Linked DNA regions of Homo sapiens: region 1 is linked to region 2. Evidence: promoter capture Hi-C in human tissues and cell types (Jung and others, 2019). All regions are on one chromosome and are shown on one strand. Each heading gives the region's core, a stretch centred on a gene start or on the middle of the fragment in contact. The rest is flanking DNA. Distances are from core to core; before and after follow the strand shown.

Region 1 (3,355 bases), core at 15-2,514, 1.1 Mb before region 2:
GTGTCTTTATTACTCATCAACTTTATATCATTGTATGAGCAAGCGACTTTCAGTACCTTGAACGCTGAAACATCAGGTGAAGGAATGCTTCCGCTTCTATGTGTGTTTTAAACTTGTTAGGACATGAAAGTGCTTAAAAGTAAGTTTGTTTTCCAAATTTAAAAAAATAAATTTAACCATGTAATACATCCAGTGGAAAAAAAAATGTATACAAAGTTTTTTTTTTTTTTTTACTTTTGACTTTTGCACGAAGTGGGCCTTTTCAACAGGGTTGTAGGTAGCAATGATCAGTTCCTAAATGGCCATGGCTGAAACAACACCGTCCTTAGAGCAAGGCTGATGACAAATTAATTCCAAGAACTTTTTACATCACTTGAAAAATGTACTGTTGGAACATTCCTCTATGTTTTAAAATCTGGAGATTAGTGAATCTTTTAAAGATAGATTTGGAAAGGCAAAGCAAGCTCATGAAGACATCATCATATAGGTGAATTCAAGCAAGCTTTGTTTCAGTGTAGACAACGTATTTGTCCACCTATTTTGACTGCATCAAAGGGAATACTGAAAAAAAATGTGAAAAAAGTTTCTAGTCAAAAGAAGAAATTTCAACCAAGCCATATTAGAATTCTGCAGGACCTGCGTGAAGTAAGAGTATTGTCTACCACCAAGTCAGGAATTGATGATCCTTCCAAACACATAAAATCCCTTTGGTGATGAAAGCAAAATCCCCAGACAATTTGATTCTTTTTTCCCAAAGTGAGCCTCCACCCTAAATTTCCAACTATAATACTTAATTTGGCAAGGGAACAGTAGCATAAAATGCATTTTGCTCATGAATTATATTTTTTCCCTGTTCTTCATGACATTTATGCATGCCAAATATAAATGGCCGCACATGGATTAAGTAACAAAGGTGTCTTTCCTTTCCAGTAGCACACATTTTATTAATAAGGATTTGACCCAATCATCAGAGTGAAGGAAAAAAAAAATTAAACTGGCTTCTGGAAATAAAGTGTGTGACCCATCTGAGGCAAATTATCTATTTTAAAGTACCAGTTTCTCTCAGCATTTCAGAAAGTTACTTGCTCAAAAAGGAAAGTAATTTCTTGGAGGAAATAATTTACCTCAGGTGGAAAAGGGGCAAAGGTGTAGCTCTTGACCTAGCAAAGTTTTTAACCCAGGCTTGGAACCTCAGTATTAAATGGATCCCAACAATCCAATACTAAACTCAAATTGTAAGGGCTAGAGCAGAGTCTTTTACTATTTCAAGGCTCTGTTGATTTTGAAAGGGCTCTTTAAGAGGTTGTCTCAAAACCCATGTGCTCACAAAACTCAATATTGGCATCGTATACCAGTTCCCATAGGTTCTCTGATGTTTCTGGAGGTAACTGCATACAGAAATTAGACAGATTGTTCAGCAGTATTTACTGGTAGGGTAAGTTTGAAAAAGTATTATCTCATTTGTTCTTATTCTAGACATAAATTCTTCTCAAGTAGCTTCCCTTGTTCCAGGAAAGCTGAAAATCCCATTCACACATAGAGATGGGGCACTTTTGAATGTTGTGTTCATAACTGCCATTTTTCTACTTCCATTCAGTTTGCTCATCGTATATATTTTTAACTTCAATTGAGATTCTCATGCATCCATTTAACACTAACTCCAAGGCACTCATTTCCAGCATTGATCGTCACAGGTTGCTTTATTGGTGTCCTGTGGGTGGCGTGAGGTACGATGGTGCTCTGGCGTCCGCTTTCTTTCTTCTTCCATATGAACTCCTAGTCTGGGTTCCACAACACTACCAGATTTTTTCCCATCCCAATCCAGATTCCTTCTGGGACTTCAAATCCGGGCTTGGGCATAGGAGGAGTAACAAAGAAATATTTTCCCATTGAAATATCCCCTAGTGAGACCTTGCTAGACTGGCTTGAAGAGGGTTTTCTATCTAAGTAGCCCATCAATTTTCTTCTCCATGTAGAGTGGCATAAACAGGTCTAAAAAAGTAAACTATGATTTTCTCTGTAAGTGAACATCCTGTATGTCAGGCTCATAATCTCAAGAGGATAAGTAGATTGATTTAACATAAGAAGTGGAGAGCTGGTATGTAAGTGCAAGTGTGCGTAAAACCTGGAATTTGAATAGTAAAACCAGTTTGAATTTTGACAACCTAACATATGGATAGTAAGACCAGTTTGAATTCCGACAACCTGAAATATGAATAGGAGGGGATGGCTGTGGATAGGGTTAAGATGAAGGCAGATATACTGAACTTAGCATGAATTACCTTTGGTCTAGTAATATTACCTTTGGTCTAGTAATGCCAGCTTGGCAGCCTAAACTGAATTTATCCATTGATTTAAATAAACCAGTGGGTGTCAAGTATCTATGCAAAGCTTGTGTAAGAGCTCCATAAGATTTTTAAAAAGTCATCCACAAATAAAATGCAAAGCCTATGAGATTGGCCTGATGAAAATATCCCAATAACTGAAGGGAGGGTAAATTTGAATATGGCACGTCTCGTATGGGGTCCTTTTTCCAGCATTAAGCCATTTTGCTTGAGCTCTATGGAGTAGAACAAAATAGAAATGAAAAGGACTTTTCCAACCAAATTCTCCCAGGAACAGAGAGCACCAAATGTGGAAGATATGACCCATGGAATTCAAAGCTGAGAGGCAATACTGACCACGTCTACAGTATGGCTTCACCACATGGACTTCAGTAACTCTAGCTTCCATTAGATAGGTTATGGGTTTGAGTGCAGCAAGACAGCTTTTGCAGAGAGTGGCTTTTTTTTTTTTTTTTTTTTTTTTTTAACAGGATGATCTCACCTACAACAGCAGCAACAGGAAACAATATAGTAGTGTTAACTGTGGCTTTCAGACATATCGATGCCTCCACTCTGATTACTGTATGAAGCCAGTTCAGGCAGAAAGAAAATATGGGCACATATAGTATCTATCAGAGCTGAGTTTATGAGTACGCAAAAGACATCCTCTGGGGACTTCCAGAAATATTTAAGAGGGACGATGAAGGTTTCTGTAGGTCTGGAAGACCATGAGGAAGGGGAAGAGTCAAAGAAACAAACACTCACGGTGACTTATTGTGACTCATATTCTTGCTTCAAAACCTTTGTGGTCTGAGGAAACACATATTATATCCATAAAGAGCTGTCTATTTGTTGGTCAGAAGCATACGTGACAAATATTGTGAGTTAGTTTATTTTCAACCACTGTTCCAAATTCATTTACTCCTCTTTACCAAAATTTAAAATAAAATTTTCATTCTCCCTTGCTGATAGGGGTTGACCATATAAAATGGTTTTGGCCAATGAGACATGCAGAATTCTTCTCAAATAAG
Region 2 (3,406 bases), core at 475-2,974:
TATATAAAGAGTTGAGGGAAGGCTAAAGTCAACAGTTTTAATTTAGTACTCGGTCTGATGATTTGCTTCAACCTAACATCTAGCTCATGATTTAATTACTTCATTACTATACATGCCTCATGACAGATGCTCTTGTATACACAATTCAGGTAAAATTGACTTGAAGTCCACTCAGCGTCACTGTATGTCTAAAAATAAAGAAGCTTGGAAAGCCTGGATGGAACCCTGAGAGACAGGCTAGTCCCTCAAGCAGTTGCTAAAGAGTTGAGCGGTTTCTTCTGAAGTTCAAGATAACACTACCGAAGAATGTTATCACCGCCTCGTTCTACAATTCGCTCAAGTGAATCCTGCTAAATCTTTGCTCTTCTCACGAGTCAGACCTACTGCTATTAGTGGAAACTACTTATGAAATGAATTTTATTTCTAAATTTCTAATCATCTTGCAATGCAATATTAGGCATTGTCCTCTCGGTCCGCTAACCTGATCAAACTGGGGTCCCTAAATCCAAACACGCACATACAGCGTGTCTTCTAGTACACAAAAAAATTTCCAAGTAGACAACCCATTGTTATCTCCTTGGTTTACTTCCTTGCTTAAAAACAAAAAAACAAACCCAGATGGCTACCATATACGCTGATAAATGATTCTGGTGTGTGTTGTTCTATAAAGAGAGCGGATTTGAAATGAGTGAATCGCTGAGTCCCGCGATGAGACAGGGTCTGCATTTTGCTCTTAAAATCTCGGGGGCGTCAGGACCACATCCCAGCTGAGCAGGCTGAGACTGCTGAGGAGTGCGGACGGGCGAGGAGGGGACGCGGAAAGGAGGGAGCGGCGACAGGCGACCCGTCCGGCACGGGTCCCGGCGGTGCCCGGTCCCCCCGGGCTCCAGGCCGCTCGCCCCCCGCCCCTCCCCTTCGCTCCCCGCACAGCTCTCCCGCCCCTCCCCACCCGGCTCCCTCAAGTCTCCACGAACGGAAATGGGAGTCACAGCGCCGGGGACCAGCGGAAACAAAACACAGAGGCGGCCGCGGGGGGGCCCTTGTGGGGGAAAAGGCCCCGGAACGAGGCCGGCCCGCGAGGGCCCGCGCTCCCCTCCTCCCCGGCGGCCGCACTCACCCACTCCGGAATCGGCCCTGTCGCCCCCGCCCGCACTCCAGAGCCGGCTGAGAACGGCAGCGGCGAGGGCTCCACGTGCAGCGTCTCTCCGGGTAAGACCTGCAGCTCCCGCGACTAGAAGTGTGAGGTCCCAGGGCCCTTCCCGCGGAATCGGCGCTGAGAAGCCCCAACCCCCCTCCCGCCTCCCAGGCACCTTCGGGTCCAGGACTACAACTCCCGGCAGGGTGCGCAAAACGACCGCCCAAGGCAACGGAGGCTCACGAGGTACAAGGAAGCACAACGCCCCAATCCGCTTTGTTTTACACAGTCTCACTTTCCCTGCACCTTTATACACTTCGATAACCCTAACGAACAGGACGCTGACTCGGAGGGGAGCTTGAACTAGGGGAAAGGCCACTCAAAGAGCGCATGCGTACAGAGCAAGGTTTCAAGGAGGGGAAAAAGAACGGGTCAAATTAGGCGAAGAAAAGATGGCGGAGGCTGTGCCAGGGGACCCGGAAGCACTTACCCTCCACTTCCTCCTCCTGTTTGGCTTCTGTCTCACCTAGACCCGTCCGGTCGCAGACTGTCTCCGAGACGCTTCCTGTCCGGTGAGCGTCGACCGACTGAAACGGCGGCCCATAATGCATTGCGATGGCGGGTAGGCGTGTGGGGGCGGAGCCAGGGCCGGAAGTAGAGCGGAGGTGGTGGCGGCGGAGGCTTTGGCAGCTCGGGACTGAGTGCAAGGTGACTGGGAGGGTAGCTAGATCAGCGTGGCCTTTTGGGACTCCAGTTCTGGGTTTTTTCACGAGGCCTGGGCTGCCTCTCACCTTTACTAGGAGGAGAGAGCAGCTCTGTGTCCTGGGGACCTTCACGGCCTGGCCCGGGGTCACAGCTGACCTCTACGTTTGTAGACCTTGGAGTTTGCCGTAGACCCAGAAATAAGATCGATACCCTCTCTGAGGGCAAATCGGGGCGGCGCGGGGGGCAGGGAGGCCCGGGGGTCTCGGGCCCGCAGCCTGGCTGGGGCAACCCAAGGTCAGGCGCGCGGGAGAGATTTTCGGCCAGGCCTACCCGCCCCGGGCGCACGGGAGCGTCTAGGCTACTTAGGCAGAACGTGTACCATTAAGAGGGAAAAAATTAGTCATAATATTGAAAGTTTGCATCCCACCTAAAAACGATGGTGCTAACACTTCATTAGGCGACTTTATGGATTGTTCATAGGAATATGCACTGAAGAGGCAGCGAACCTACTAACCTTTGGCCGGTCAGTCATCACTATAAATAGAACCATGCTCCCACCCAGAACAAGGCCTCTGCTCAGACTAGTGTTTTCTTACTGTTGCCTTCCCCAGTCTTTCTGATCATGTCAGACGCTATCATATGCTCTCGTGGCACCCGATGGTACTGGAATAGAGAATTTATGTCAGGTGGTATTTCACAGCTATTTGTGTAATGACTATCTTCTGCGTTTTAGTGGACAATATGCATTCACTAATCAGTGAAAAAAAATGAAAGGGATTAAAGGAGAAGGAACAAGTTTTGATATGGGATTATGTGTTCGTTTTTTGGATGAGTTCGTAGGACTTATAAGGGAGATGAGAACTGTTGAATGCTGTGGATAGATTTGGGGCTCAGGATGAATACTAAAATTAGAAATGCGATTGGGGAATCATAGGCACTTACATGGTGGATAATTGAAACAATGAAAGTGGATTTTACCCGTGTTGCAGAAGGAGTAACATCTATGCAGTCAGACTTAGAGCAAATTAACTGTGAGAATACGTGCAGCTTAATCTTTCTTAGATACAGTTTTATCATCTGTAAAGCAGGGATAAGAACACTTTAACTCTTTGAGAGTATTGCTGTAAGGGTACAAGGAAAGGATATATATGGAAGTACTTTGCACAGTATCTAGGGCTAAGCAAATGTCGGGTGAACCTATTGCTGAATGTTAAGCATGTCCTTAGTTTGCCAGAAGGGAAAGTGGCATTGAATTGCACAATTTTTTTTTTTGCATATATGTGTTAAGTTAGATTTTGCTGTGTAACTTTGACCAGATACTTTTTTTTTGAGACAGAGTCTCGCTCTGTCGCCCAGGCTGGATTGCAGTGGCACGATCTCTGCTCACTCCAAGCTCCACTTTCCAGGTTTACGCCCTTCTGCCTCAGCCTCCGGAGTAGCTGGGACTACAGGTGCCCGCCACCACGCCTGGCTAATTTTTTGTATTTTTCAGTAGAGACCGGGTTTCACCGTGTTAGCCAGGATGGTCTCGATCTCCTGACCTCGTGATCTGCCCGCCTCGGCCTC

What was found. Contacts are between HindIII fragments. The study calls those that stand out against the background at their distance.
Region 1: a fragment that was not itself captured here is called in contact with the fragment with the promoter of GABPA in region 2 in 1 of the 25 tissues and cell types used here (heart left ventricle).

What each region holds. Positions count from the first base shown.
Region 1 is chr21:26,806,648-26,810,002 of GRCh38, reverse strand. No RefSeq gene overlaps it. Among named protein-coding and RNA genes, the nearest start is that of ADAMTS1, 37 kb to the left of the region's middle. The HindIII fragment of the contact is 3,946 bases long and covers 1-3,237 here.
Region 2 is chr21:25,733,290-25,736,695 of GRCh38, reverse strand. It overlaps GABPA (GA binding protein transcription factor subunit alpha), which reads right to left and starts at 1,724. Exons shown (of 10, transcript NM_002040.4): 1 at 1,118-1,724. It overlaps ATP5PF (ATP synthase peripheral stalk subunit F6), which reads left to right and starts at 1,792. Exons shown (of 4, transcript NM_001003703.2): 1 at 1,792-1,843. RefSeq lists silencers at 731-940, 1,001-1,140, 2,081-2,180 and enhancers at 1,641-1,760, 1,781-1,890, 1,317-1,972, 2,291-2,370. The HindIII fragment of the contact is 8,192 bases long and covers 1-3,406 here.